Linked DNA regions of Homo sapiens: regions 1, 3 and 4 are each linked to region 2. The links are contacts of gene promoters, found by promoter capture Hi-C in blood cells and fetal thymus (Javierre and others, 2016). All regions are on one chromosome and are shown on one strand. Each heading gives the region's core, a stretch centred on a gene start or on the middle of the fragment in contact. The rest is flanking DNA. Distances are from core to core; before and after follow the strand shown.

Region 1 (3,092 bases), core at 564-3,063, 2.0 Mb after region 2:
GCAAAGGTCCGGTTATTCCCATAAGGACAAAGACATAACTATATCTCTCTTTAAAGGCTCTGAAAAGTCCTGCAATTAAGATAGTAGTTCGATGTTGGTTTCTCAATCTGCAAATGTGGATATTATCGTTTGGTATGAGTGTGCAAGAGGCTGAAGAAAATCTTAAAACACAAGCTTTGAGTAACCGGTTTGACTACGCTCCACAAGGTTTTTTCTTTCTGCTCAATTTCCAACTTCCACTTTGCATGCAACCATCACTGCACTTCTAAATGTTGATGGATGTACAGAACATTCTTTGCCAGAGACCCACTTGGGCACAGAAGTCTGGAGCAAACTAGAATATTTTATACACACACACAAAAATAAGACCTCATTCTTTCACAGGCAAAACTCCTCTGACGTCAATAGTAGGCTGGGAACAAAGGATGAAACAATAGATAGCAAATTTCAAGTAATTACCTAGCCAATGGCATAGAACGTGATTGACTGAGTCCTTGTGCTTGGCATGCAGATGATTAAATGAGTTTTAATTTGCACATCCAGTGGCAAGACTGCCAACGAATAAGAAATAGAAAAAAAGGAAGAGAGAGAAAGGAGAGCGAAGAAGGCAGGGAAGGAGGAAGGGAGTAGGATAGAAAGCGGGAGAGAGAGAGACAGAGAGAGAGAGAGAGAGAGAGAAGGAGCTCTCTATGCAAGTTCCCTGGAAATGTGGTTAACAGATTGCTAGCATACAAAACAAATAAAAATAAAAATAAAAATAAAAATAAAAATAAAAAATAAAGGTCAGCTAGATGGTTTTAAAAAGCTTTGTCAACAGATTCAAACCTGTTCAGGGACTCTGGGGTGGTAAAAGGGGGAAAATGATGCCCTCGCTATATCTGCAGAAAATGTGTGTTTGCATATTTACTGCTACAGGAATTTGAATTTCTTTTTATGCTATTTCCTAACATTTACAGATGGAGCAGAAGTGTGAGCAGTGGGGAGGCAATTTGTTTCTTCCTCAAAGGCTGCAACTCAATTCAGAGAAACAAATCCAGCTTTCAAGAGCAATTAGATTAAATTCACAATGGCTGCTCTGGGCAAGTTTGATTGTCTGCTGTGATCATTTCTTGTGCCATTTTGCAAGTAGATTGTGAAAAACAGCGATGTCATCACTTCTTCATAATGTTGTCTGAATAACCCTACCCCCACGATAATGTACTCATTGGTCAAATAAGTTAAAAAATTCTGCTTACTCTATTTGCTTCTGGAAAGTCACAATGTATGCTTGTATGTTAAAGGCTCTGAAAAGTCCTGCAGTCAAGACAGTAGTTTGACATTGGTCAATCAAGATTTGTCTAATCCCGTATGAACGCAAATGTTTTTCTGATAACCCATTTTGTTACATCTGACAGCATGGGTGTGCCCTAGAAATGTTTTAGGAAATGATGGATTATATGATTTGCTCCAGTTATCAATCACAACTTTCATATTCATTTGAAAAAATAGATCTAGACAGATTAATCAAACAAGTAATTATTAATCTGTCTCAAACGTGTATTTTCTTTCATGCATAGAAATGAGTAAGACTCATATAAATATGTTAGTTGTCAAATTATAATAGATTCCATTTATTGAGTACTCACTATGGATATATCAAGTATTTCGTTTGATCCTAATGATAACAGTAAGAAATAGACATTTTTAGCCATGTTTTATAGATGAAAAAACTAAAGTTCTGAGAATTTTAGTAATTTGCTTGCATTCAGCTAGGATATGGTAAAATCCACATTTGAACTCAGACCTCAGTTTAAATAATGTGTTTTTTCTGTATTGCTGCTTTTTCTTCTGCCTGGCATAGGCATTAAATGAGGAGGCAGGAATGAAAGGGAATGCTTACCACATTTTCTCTGACACCAGGTTTACCCACATCCTTTCTCATCTGATATATATTTAACATCTGGAATATCTGATTTTTACAATGAGGATAATGAGGTTTGTGGATTTCGAGAGCTGACATTTTATCCAGTATCAAAGTAGCTTTTGAGGAATATGATTAAAATCCAGACCCCTCCACTTTAACATTTTAATTAGGTAAAAATAAATAGTAACTTCATGACTATACACCAAATCAATGTAATATGCCATTGGTGTTAATAAAATCCAATGCCTGAGTCATAACTCTATGTAACTTAAATAATTCCACACTTTAGGAAATTTGTTTTATAATGTGCATTATAAAGAGATTAATTAACGCAAATTTTCCTTAAGTCTGTAATCACACAGACAAAAGGAAGATACTCTCTCAGTCTACATTTTTTTTCTGCTGATGAGGATGTTGGATAGATTTTTCAATTACCTGAGTTAAGAAGCAAGGCCTGGTCAACACAGTGACAACTACCTTGAACAAGGAGACCAAATTTATAGCAACCTAGAGAAGAAAACCACACAATAAGTATAAAGAAAGTTATCAGGGCAAAACATAATGAAACCTATTTTGAATTATAACTCTAGGCATCTATTAATCACTTATTGTCTTATATGTCACTCAAGAAAATGATAAATCCAGCCCTGTTCTTGGGGAGATTGCAATATATGAAGCGCTTCCTAGAGAACACTACCACTGGTCAGAAAATTTACAGTGTGGAATAAGCAAACCAAATATTATCTAAGAGGAATCTTGTGTAATCTTTGCTAGTTAGGATTTTCCTTTTTCTGGTAAAAGTACACTGAGTCAGCTCTGCAATGAGCGTACTTTCCCTGCTGGATAGAATATGGTAGAAATAACAGTGTCCTTCCTTTCCCTGGTTAAGGGATCTGGCCATGACCCAAGATAAGCTTATTGAACGCTGTTTCCTTTGAGTGTGGAATCTTGAAGGAAATGACACAGAAACAAAAAAGATCATAGGCTGATTAACTTCATCGCTGACATCCTAAAGTAACAGCCCCTCAGTTCTGGCTGTAACTCCCCCTCTCCCCGTGAGCTTTCTTTGCTCCTTGTGTTTTTCCAAACCTCAGTCTATGGCTTTCACTTGGATCCTTTTAGGTCCCTTATTTCCCTTGAATGAATTATTTTTCTGCTTAAGAGAGCAAGATACACTTTCTCTTGCTTG
Region 2 (3,121 bases), core at 427-2,926:
CACACCAGATGCCAGGTATGAACATATCTCATTTTACATTCATATTCTATGAAGTCTGAATTATTAACGTCCCATTTTACAGATGAGGGGCCTGAGATAGAGAGAAGGGAATTTGATCAAAGTCAACAACAAGTGAGTAGAGAGAGGAATCCAGGGAGTCTGAGGCCAACTCTTTGCCACTGTATACACACACACCGCTCCAGTGCCAGGGCCTGAGCTGGGGACAAGGTCAATGTGGCTGACAGGCAGGACAAGAGGCCATTCCAGATGAGTGCAGAGAAGACCCACAGCCATGGGGTGGAAGCAGGCCCAGTGGAGGCATCCGAGACCTCACAGGTCGTTAGAGAGGGCTTCCCGGAGGAAGGAACAGCTGGGCTGGGCCCTGAAGAATCATCAGGAGGCGGCACGGTGTGTGCAGAAGGTGCCACTCTGGAGAGGATCCCCAAGACCTGTGTGCCACCTGTCGGACTGGAGAAGGCAAGGAAGGAAGTTGATCTGGGCAGGAGGCATGATGAAAGCCTGGGTCCAATCCCCATCCGCTCCTTACTGAAAAGCTAGGAAACGGTCAGGAGATGTTCGCTGGGCCGGCGGCACTCCGCTGAGGCCTGCACCAGCTCATGGAGTTGTCTCCCAAACTCTTGCTGGGAAGGTGCTATTTTTGGCCCTCTAAAGGTCAGAAAACAAGCTCAAAAGCCTTCAGGACTCGGTCTGAGGTCACCGGGCGATGAATGGAGGGGCCCTGTCTGCACCCAGGCAAACAAAGAGGCTCCAGACTGCCAGGCCGGATGCGCTCCGGGCTGGACGCCGGCTCCGCGTGTCTGGGCTTGCCATTCCTGGACCGCCAGACTTCATTTACTACTATTTTTATTTAAAAAGACTCACTTGGAAGAAAGTGATAGATTTCTTGAAAGGAAAGCTGGTATGACTGCTCTGAAGGAAAACCAGTTTTCACTTAGCACCAATGGAAAGTGACGGAAATGAAACATAACAAACAGCACTGTGGGTTTCTTGCCCGCGGCTTCCCTGAGGACGCCTGCTCTTCCACTCAGAAGAAAAGGGAGGAGCAGCGAGCGTCGGGAGGTGTTCAAAACACAGCGAGACCCAGCCAGAAGGCCTGGACAACAACTCCGCAGGCAACGTGTGGAAGTTCAGACCAAGTCAGTCGGCTGCGCCCCAGCCTGGCTGAGGCTCTGCAGACCCGGGGCTCGGCCGAAGACTGCGCGACCTTGGGCAGAGCGCCACACCTTCCCGAGCCTCAGTTTCTCTGGCTGTCAACTAGGAGGATCGCTTCCTTGGCTTGCAGGGATTTGGGGTTTCGGGGACCCTGGAAGAGCTCGGTCCCGGGCAGCTACAAGTGCAAAGGCGTCCTTGGCGGAGGCGGCCGGACCCCGGCGCGGCCCTGCGGACGTCTGGGGACCTGGACACCGCCCGGGATCAGGGTCGGGGTGGGGTGCTTACCTGGTGGCCGCGGCAGTCCCCGCGCGCCGTGCGGAGCAGCCGGGCGTCTAGCCTGGGCGGGAGCAGGGCCAGGGCCAGGGGCGGCGGGGCGCAGGGGGCGGTGGCGCCCAGGAGCCAGGTGGCGCGAGGCCGGACCCGGGCGCCCACCCTGCCTGCCGGACCCAGCAACGCCAGCAACCCGGCCATGGTGCGCAGCTAGGCGCAGCACCCGCGCCGCTGACCCGGGAGGCGGGCGGAGGCCGGGGAGGGTGGGCGGAGCTGACCCGGCGAGGGCCCTCCCCGGCCCCGCCCGCCGGCTTCGCCGCCGCGCGCGCGCGCTGGGCGGGACTGAGGAGGCCTGTGCACATCCCCTTGGCTCACCCGCTAGCTCCGCTCCTCGGGAGCCGGAGTCCAGGGCTGGTGGGCGGGGCTGAAGGAGCGCGCCCCGCCTCCTCTCCGCCCACCAGCCCCGCCCCTTTGGGGGTGGGTGCAGGTCTTTTCAGGGTCTTGGGCTTTCTAACTGTGGTGTGTAGTTGGCGGGTTTCCTTATTCTGCGGGCACAAAGGTGGGCGTAGGGCCGTGGCTTATGAGCTTTTCTCCCTGCAGAAATGGGTGAAATCTGAAAAAAAATTATAGATATGTTTACGTGTTAGCTCCAAAGAAGAAAATAAATATGAGAATTGATATTAGTACATGTTTAATAAAAAGTCCTCTGACCCTCATAGATTGTTGGCGTGAATGTAAAGCGAAAGATGGTGTGGCAGTTTCTTGAAAAGTTAGACATACACTAACCATACAACCCAGCAACTCCACTCCTCGGTAGCTTCTCAAGAGAAACAAAGGCTCGACACTCAAAGACTAAAATGTGAAGACACCAATGTTTGTAGAGATCTTATAAATATTAGTCAACAATTAGGAATGCCCATAAACTGGGACGTACTGTGGCACAAGTCTTCAATGGGACGCAATGCAACAATTAAAGGGAACAGACTACTGATACATGCACAACATAAATGAATCTCAAAGCTCTTATGCCAATTGAAAAAATCTAGGCACAAAAGTCACACACTGGAGGATTCCAGCTACATGAAGTGCCCAGAATAGGCAAAATCACAGAGACCTAAAACAGATCCGTGGTGGCCTAGGGCTGGGAGTGGGAAATGAGATTGACTGCCAAGGAGTGGGAGGAACGTCTTGGGGTGAGGGAAGGATCCTAAACCCAGATTGTAGGGATGGTGACAGCTGTGTAACTAAAACTCGTGGGACTGTACACTTAACATGGATGAATTTTATGCTGTGTAAATTATACTTCAATAAAGATGTTCTGGCTGGGTGGAATGGCTCATGCCTATAATCCAAGCACGTTGGGAGGCTGAGGTGGGAGGATTACTTGAGCTCAGGAGTTCAAGACCAGCCTGAGCAACATAGCGAAACCCTGTCACTACAAAAATAAAAATAAATTAGCCTGGTGTGGTGGCATGCACCTGTAGTCCCAACTACTCGGGAGGCTGACGCAGAATTGCTTGAGCTCAGGAGGTCCAGGTTTCAGGGAGCCACGATGGTGCTACTGCACTCCAGCCTGGGTGACAGAGCGAGACCCTGTCTCTCTAGAAAAAGAAAAAGAAATATATTTTACAAAAGATGTAATATTCTATTAGTCAACTGCAATTCAACTCAACCAAGC
Region 3 (3,135 bases), core at 285-2,784, 2.2 Mb after region 2:
TGTATATGTATGTGTGTGTGTGTGTGTAAATATGATTTTGTGTGGGATGTGGTTGAAATCAAATCTATTAGAGTATGCAGTAGAACATTCAGATATAAGAACAACATGAGTTTGAAGAAAAGAAATTTGTGAAGAATAGTCAGGAAGTCTAAAACTTAACTGTATGTTGCATTAGGCTTCCGAAGAGCAACCCAAAGCAATTATTTTATCTTTCCTGCTCTTGGAATTTTTAAATGTTTCTTTCAATTACTTGTCTGAAGTGAGTGGCCCATTTTGCAAGGTAGCGTTCCCTTGAATTCATGCCCCGGGTATTTACTGAGTGCCTACACTGTTGAATGACAGTCACATTCCTCGTCAAGGCTTACGTCTAATCAACATCTTCAAAGCCCTGCTTGGTCTGCTCTGGCACCAGGAAGCAGAGACAAAATCAACAGTGTCTCCTTACCTGACTGGCTTTGGCAAGAGGCAACATGACTTTGCATTCCCCAGGGAGGAATGTTGCCCTCGCCCAAGAGCGAATACAGCCGGGTGAACCTGCTCACCTCTCAGCGCCCTCCCTCTGGTCTGAGTGATTCAGAGGGAGACCTGCCACGTTAGTGCTCCTGACTGGGTTTGGTGAGCCTGAGAAACAGGCAGCTTGCCCTTTGATGTGTCTAGACACAGCGATGATTCAGAGATCCCTCTCCAGAGTGCCCGTGAGGAGTGCTGGAAATGTCAGGAGGAAGAAGCCTGCCTTCATGAGGTCCCTGTTGAGCAAAGCAGGCCCCAGGCTGGACATCAATCCTCTCTAGTCACTCCCTCTCTTCCCCTGAAGGAACCAGATGATGAATCACCCACTGGAAAGGTCCACTTCTTTCCTTCCTAATAAACAAAATACAACTTTCAAACCCCATTGAAAAAGGAACCAGGCCTAGTTCCCTCTAACAATACCTGTTTACCTATTGATTTTGCCATGGCTCAGAAAATATGTATGGTGTCCTTAGGAGGACTAAAGTGGTTTTCATATGTAACTCACATCCCCAGGTTCCTTTAGGTGTTTTCTAGAGTAGAGGACCTTAGCCTGGGGAGTAAGGGAGGCAGAGAAGGCCTGAGCATCTCTGAAAGGCCGTCAAAATGTGCATGAACGTTCGTCAGGACAGGGTTTTTAGCTGGGGATTCAAAGGTTAAGAATCTGCTAGCTCTCCAGACTAACTGAGCTCAAAGTCTTGAATTTGTACACAGGGCCAGGCAATGTTCTATACATTCATTTAATCCTCCTAAGCAAGTTACGAATTGACACTGCTATTTCCACATCCCCGTCTTACCAACTCCACATTAAGCTACCAATAACAGTGGCATAACCAGGAATCCGAACCAGGCATGCTGGCTGTAGCATTCATGCACCTAACCACCGTACTGCTTAAATAAAACACAGATAAAGTGACTTACTTATCTACATTTTAGTTGTACCTAGTCTGAGTGAGAAGTTGGGAAGAAAAAGTGACTTCGACCAAGAAGAAATGCAGAATTACCTGGGCTGTTTGTTGATCAATCCACTAGGACATTTGGCAAATTTTCCCGTGCTTACTATCTTGTGTTTTGGAGATGTGTATGCATGTGTGTGTAGGTGCGTGTGTGTGTATATGTGTGTGTATAATTTGTGACCCAAATTTTAATAGGTGAAAAATCAGTTAGATTTCTATCCTCAATTATTTTATTATAATTTAGTTTCCTATTCTAAATAATTTGAAACATGGTAACTATTTTAGTAATTTTGGGGAAGACAATGTCTGTTCAAGGACTTTTTTGATTAGCATTTTAAAGTAAACATGTTTGTTCACTAAATAGGGAAACCCACAGTCTGGGGAACTGACTTTGTCTTAAATGATGGTCTTCACCAGAAACTGAAGTTCATGAGTTTATGAGTCATCTCTGGCTCATTCTTCAAGTTTGCATTAAAAGTCAGGAGAAAAGGCTTATAATCAGGCTGGGTGTTTTGCTGCTGTTTTTCTTGTTGTTTTGCATTAAAGATGCTCAAAATGAATTGAGAAATAAAATCAGCCGTGCATAAATAATGGGCTTAGCCTCCTGGTCAGTGTCATGTGCAGAGGCAGAAATGGTTCCAGTGGCTGACTTAGTTAGGGGAAGGAGTAGTATTTGGGCATTAAAGATTTACCAAATTGTATTTTTGCAATTCTATTTTTGGGGTTCTGCTGAGCAAAAAAAAAAAAAAAAAAAAAAAAAGCCCTGCAGCTCATGAACCTGGACTCTGAACATCCTCTCTTTAGTTTACTATAAAAAGAAAACTCTTTAATAAAAAACAGTGAACAGAACTGGGATGAAAGTTTAAGGTTTTCTTTAGTCAACAGCTTTCCTGTGGTTCCTGAATTTCTGGCTGAACAAGCACAAATTGGTGAATAATGGAGGCAACCAAAGTAAAATATAGGAAACCGAAGTAAAATATTAAAATATTGTCTTTACTGAAGGTCCTTCTTCAGGATAAAGAGTTAAGAAAATGATCACACTAAGCATTCCTTACTTAGGTAAACATTGACAGGAAGTGAGGTGAGAACTACCTTGTCAGAAAATGTGTGGGATGCTGGAAGATTCTTTAATGCAAGTCACAGACTGGCAGGTTCCCAGCCAAATGTGGACCTCACATGGGCTTTTTTGGCTTGCATGATGTGTTTTAAACTTTTGAATTTGTTGACAACTTTTAAAAATTGAGGGAGTGCATTCTCAAAGTTGATATTTTTCTCTTGCCTTCAAAAGTTAGACCTGTTGCCAGTCGGGCGCAGTGGCTCATGCCTGTAATCCCAGCACTTAGGGAGGCCCAGGTGGGTGGATCACCTAAGGTCCGGAGTTTGAGACCAGCCTGGCCAACATGGTGAAACCCCGTCTCTACTAAAAATACAAAAATTAGCTGGGCGTGGTGGTGCGCACCTGTATTCTCAGCTACTTGGGAGGCTGAGGCAGAAGAATTGTTTGAACCTGGTAGATGGAGAGTGCAGTGAGCCAAGATCACACCAGTGTACTCCAGCATGGGCATCAGAGTGAGACTCCATCCCAAAAAAAAAAAAAAAAAGTTAGATCTGTCTATGGTGGGCCCACTTTCTGCTTAGCACAGCTGGCTACAGCTGAGTAACAAAGCCCCCT
Region 4 (3,571 bases), core at 478-2,977, 2.3 Mb before region 2:
GAATGTTTACTCTCTCTTAAATGTTGCTCCCTGAAAATATATAGAAAGGAGTGAATGCACTTGCCTGTATTATAAACTTGCTTTTGATAACTGCTAGGATTTGGATTGTTTTCCTATCTTTTCATGCACCAGCTCTTAATTTCCTTGGACATACTTCAGAACGTAAATTTGACTTGATCTGGCTATAGAAATGTAATGAAAAAGTCAACAAAAGATCCTTAAAATAAAGACCTCTTACTACTAGTACTGTGATAGAACGGCATGAACCTCAATGATTCTTGTGATCAGTTGCAAGTGAAAAAAAAAACTAGGCAGTAAATGAAACAACTACAAAATGCTCAATAGTAGCAAGGTTTACTTAAATACACTTAGCTTATTTTGGAAATAGGGCTGATCCAGTTATCTCAGTCACACAATCATTAACCATGTGTTAAGATGTGTGAAACAACTGCCTAAAACCGCTAGCAAATTATCTACCATTTGGCAAAAGCAATCCTTAAGATCTCAATGCAATCTTACACTGTCATTTCTTTTCTTCAGTTAAATGTCCACAGGGAACATTTCCCCTTATTTTGAAATGGTATCGATGGTTCCTGTTTATTTTAACTATATAACACACTGCGGTAGAAAGCTTTTAAGAATGGGAGGGAAATCGGCTGGGCGCGGTGGCTCACGCCTGTAATCCCAGAACTTTGGGAGGCCAAGGCGGGCAGATCATCTGAGGTCAGGAGTTCGAGAGTAGCCTGGCCAAAATGGTGAAAACCGTTCTCTACTAAAAATACAAAAATTAACTGGGCATGGTGGCTTATGCCTGTAATCCCAGCTACTCGGGAGGCTGAGGCAGGAGAATCCCTTGAACCCAAGAGGCGAAGGTCGCAGTGAGCCATGATCGTACCATTGCACTCCAGCCAGGGCAACAAGAGCGAAACTCTGTCTCAAAAAAAAAAAAAAAAAAAAAACACACACACACACAAAAAACAGAGGGAAATCATGGGTTTGGCACGGTTAAGCTGTTTTCTTGCCTGCAGGCAGTGAATGGGTTGAAAAGATTTTGAGGTGCCCTCCAGAGCTCAGAATTTTTAAATGCCAGTTTCAAAAGATCCAAATGATGATCAAAATATAATGGAAAATAATCTATAAAAGCCCTTTATAGATAATACTTTGGAAATTTTCTAAATCACACTGTAGAGTTGGGTGAAAAATTCATATTGCTTTTCTTCCCTCTTCCTTGCATTTAACTAAATTTATTTTTTCATTCATTAAATACTTATTTGCTTTTCTAATAATAAAGGAACAAGACAAAATTTTAAAATCCACAGATGAAGGGGGAAAAATATCATATAAAGAAAAACTTAGAATAAAAGACCACTTCAAGTAATAGGCCCTAAATCCTAAAGAGTTCACAGTAAAATTCTTAAAAGCAAATTGGTATCTTCACCATCAACCTCCCTGCATGCCCTGGAGTGGTTCTGCCACCATCTGCTTCAGGCTTTCTGTGTGCTCTGGGGCACGTGTCCACTCAGGGAACGCATCTTAGGCAATGACCACGCTGGAAGGACTAGGCCCCATTCACTAATCCCAGCACGTCCAGGAGCCGTGATTAAGCCCAACGGTGCTCAAGCGTGGCACGGATGCTGCAGGGCCAGTGTCATTTCTTAAACAAATGGTGTGTCATCCAAACCCGCACTGTCTGGGGCTCCCGGGCCGTGAAGTGGTAATTCTCCACCACCACTACCTTCTGTTTGGTTTCAAGAGTTCATCAATAGGAATTTTACATTCTTGACATTATTTTAATCCTCATAAAAACTAGGTGAGTTAGAAACTATTATTCTAACCTATAAATATGGAAATTGAAACTCAGAAAAGTTAAGTCGCTTGCCCAAGGTCACAGAGCCATTATGTGACAGACTGAAACCTGGGTCGGCTGACTCCAGAAACCCCTTCCACCCTCAAAGGTGCCAATCACTCCACAGGCCCATAAACTATAACTGCAATTTGCTAAGAAAATGAATCAAGACAAGCCATCAGATTAAAACAACAAAACACAGTAGTTTGATTCATTTCCCACCAACTACACCAGGCACTATAGGACAGGCCGCCAGTGAGTGACGTTAGTGTCAGTAAAGATCATCCTCTCTTACTGACCATCCGTGGACAGAGAGGCGCAGACCTCACCCTCTACAGAGCAGGCACAGAGAGGGCCTGTGCCAAGCACTCAGAGGCAGACTTGTTTATTCCTCAACACTCCTGCTCCAAAGTCACCAAGAGGTACACAACTCTGTGGAGGACACACTGACTAAAAAGCAGGGGGACAAACCACAGGCCCAGCTCGCAGCACCTGCCAGCCATACATCAGGTGCTGTCTACAGTATTGCTGGACTGGAACAGAACTTGAACTCCAGCTGTTTATACAAAGTAAAATCTAAAATTGCTAAAGGACCTCTTCATGGGTCCTAGAATTTCCACTACACCAGTTTATTATCGAATCCACTATATTTTATTATTACACATTTCAATCAGTAATTATTTATAGTGATTTTAGAGTTTTTAAGCTCATGATCTTATTTTGTACTGTTTTTACTGTTTACAAATACACATTAAACTAAAGAAGACAGAGAGATGGTATCTATCTAAATTTACCTGCATTGGGATTAGTATCATTTTATCCAAAACAACAAATTATAAACCACATATGAAAAGTCGGTTGAAGTGAATACAACTCTTTGAAGCAGTACTTGATTTTATGCATGTGTTCCCCTCAAATTAGATGTAAATCAAAAGTGGGGAGAACACACTCTTTGTTAAGGGTCCTAAGGAAGCTTGCTAATTAGAGATTCCTACATGAACAGCATGGATGCCAGCCTGCTCAGCTGGTACTAGCTTTCCCACACATTGTATCAGAGTTTTGCCAGTAAGATAGAACAGCTGATTCTTTGGGAATGAAAACTTTAAATAGCGAATAATTTGTCTCTTTTATGATACAGTCTATAGCTATAGTTCATTATAATAAAGAAACACCACCCTATTGAGAAGAAATGTGTCATTTCTTTTAGCAGTATGGATTTGTAATGTGTATCACAGTATGTACTATTAAAAAACAAGACAGTATGTTTTGGGAAGGGAAAACAATTGTTGAAGATAAGCGTCAACTATTTGAAATGGGAACAAATATGGACATAAACAAATTTTATGTGCAACATAAGCACCCTTTTAATTTCAGAAACCTCACTTTCCATTTAAAAACATGTCTTCTTATTGTTGAAGATCCAGCATATGTATCAATTTTCAAGCTGCCATCCTATTTCATACAGATCTTAAAAAATGGCCAGGTTTCTAATTCTCTCTCCTTACCCTTACTGAATTTCAACATGGTGCCCCCTCCAAATATATGATGTTGGTTTGTGCAGCTGGCCATGGTGGCTCACGCCGGTAATCCCAGCACTTTGGGAGGCTGAGGCAGGCGGATTGCCTGAGGTCGGGAGTTCAAGACCAGCCTAGCCAGCACGGTGAAACCCCGTCTCTACTGAAAATACAAAAATTAGCCGGGCATGGTGGCATGCACCTGTAATCC

Evidence for each region. The method cuts DNA at HindIII sites, captures the fragments that hold promoters and counts their contacts. A CHiCAGO score of 5 or more calls a contact.
Region 1: a contact is called between a fragment that was not itself captured here and the fragment with the promoter of FAM210B in region 2, in 1 of 17 cell types (endothelial precursors). The highest score is 6.5, in endothelial precursors.
Region 3: a fragment that was not itself captured here is called in contact with the fragment with the promoter of FAM210B in region 2 in 1 of 17 cell types (M0 macrophages); the score reaches 5.4 in M0 macrophages.
Region 4: a contact is called between a fragment that was not itself captured here and the fragment with the promoter of FAM210B in region 2, in 1 of 17 cell types (total CD8 T cells). The highest score is 6.1, in total CD8 T cells.

The regions. Positions count from the first base shown.
Region 1 is chr20:54,340,619-54,343,710 of GRCh38, reverse strand. No RefSeq gene overlaps it. Among named protein-coding and RNA genes, the nearest start is that of DOK5, 130 kb to the left of the region's middle. The HindIII fragment of the contact is 2,012 bases long and covers 808-2,819 here.
Region 2 is chr20:56,357,529-56,360,649 of GRCh38, reverse strand. It overlaps FAM210B (family with sequence similarity 210 member B), which reads right to left and starts at 1,676. Exons shown (of 3, transcript NM_080821.3): 1 at 1,459-1,676. The coding sequence starts at 1,644. RefSeq lists a silencer at 1,400-1,999. The HindIII fragment of the contact is 7,749 bases long and covers 1-3,121 here.
Region 3 is chr20:54,121,228-54,124,362 of GRCh38, reverse strand. No RefSeq gene overlaps it. Among named protein-coding and RNA genes, the nearest start is that of CYP24A1, 51 kb to the left of the region's middle. RefSeq lists an enhancer at 4-809. The HindIII fragment of the contact is 9,202 bases long and covers 1-3,135 here.
Region 4 is chr20:58,663,812-58,667,382 of GRCh38, reverse strand. All of the region lies in intron 2 of STX16 (syntaxin 16), which reads right to left. All of the region lies in intron 2 of STX16-NPEPL1 (STX16-NPEPL1 readthrough (NMD candidate)), which reads right to left. Among named protein-coding and RNA genes, the nearest start is that of STX16, 14 kb to the right of the region's middle. The HindIII fragment of the contact is 2,188 bases long and covers 634-2,821 here.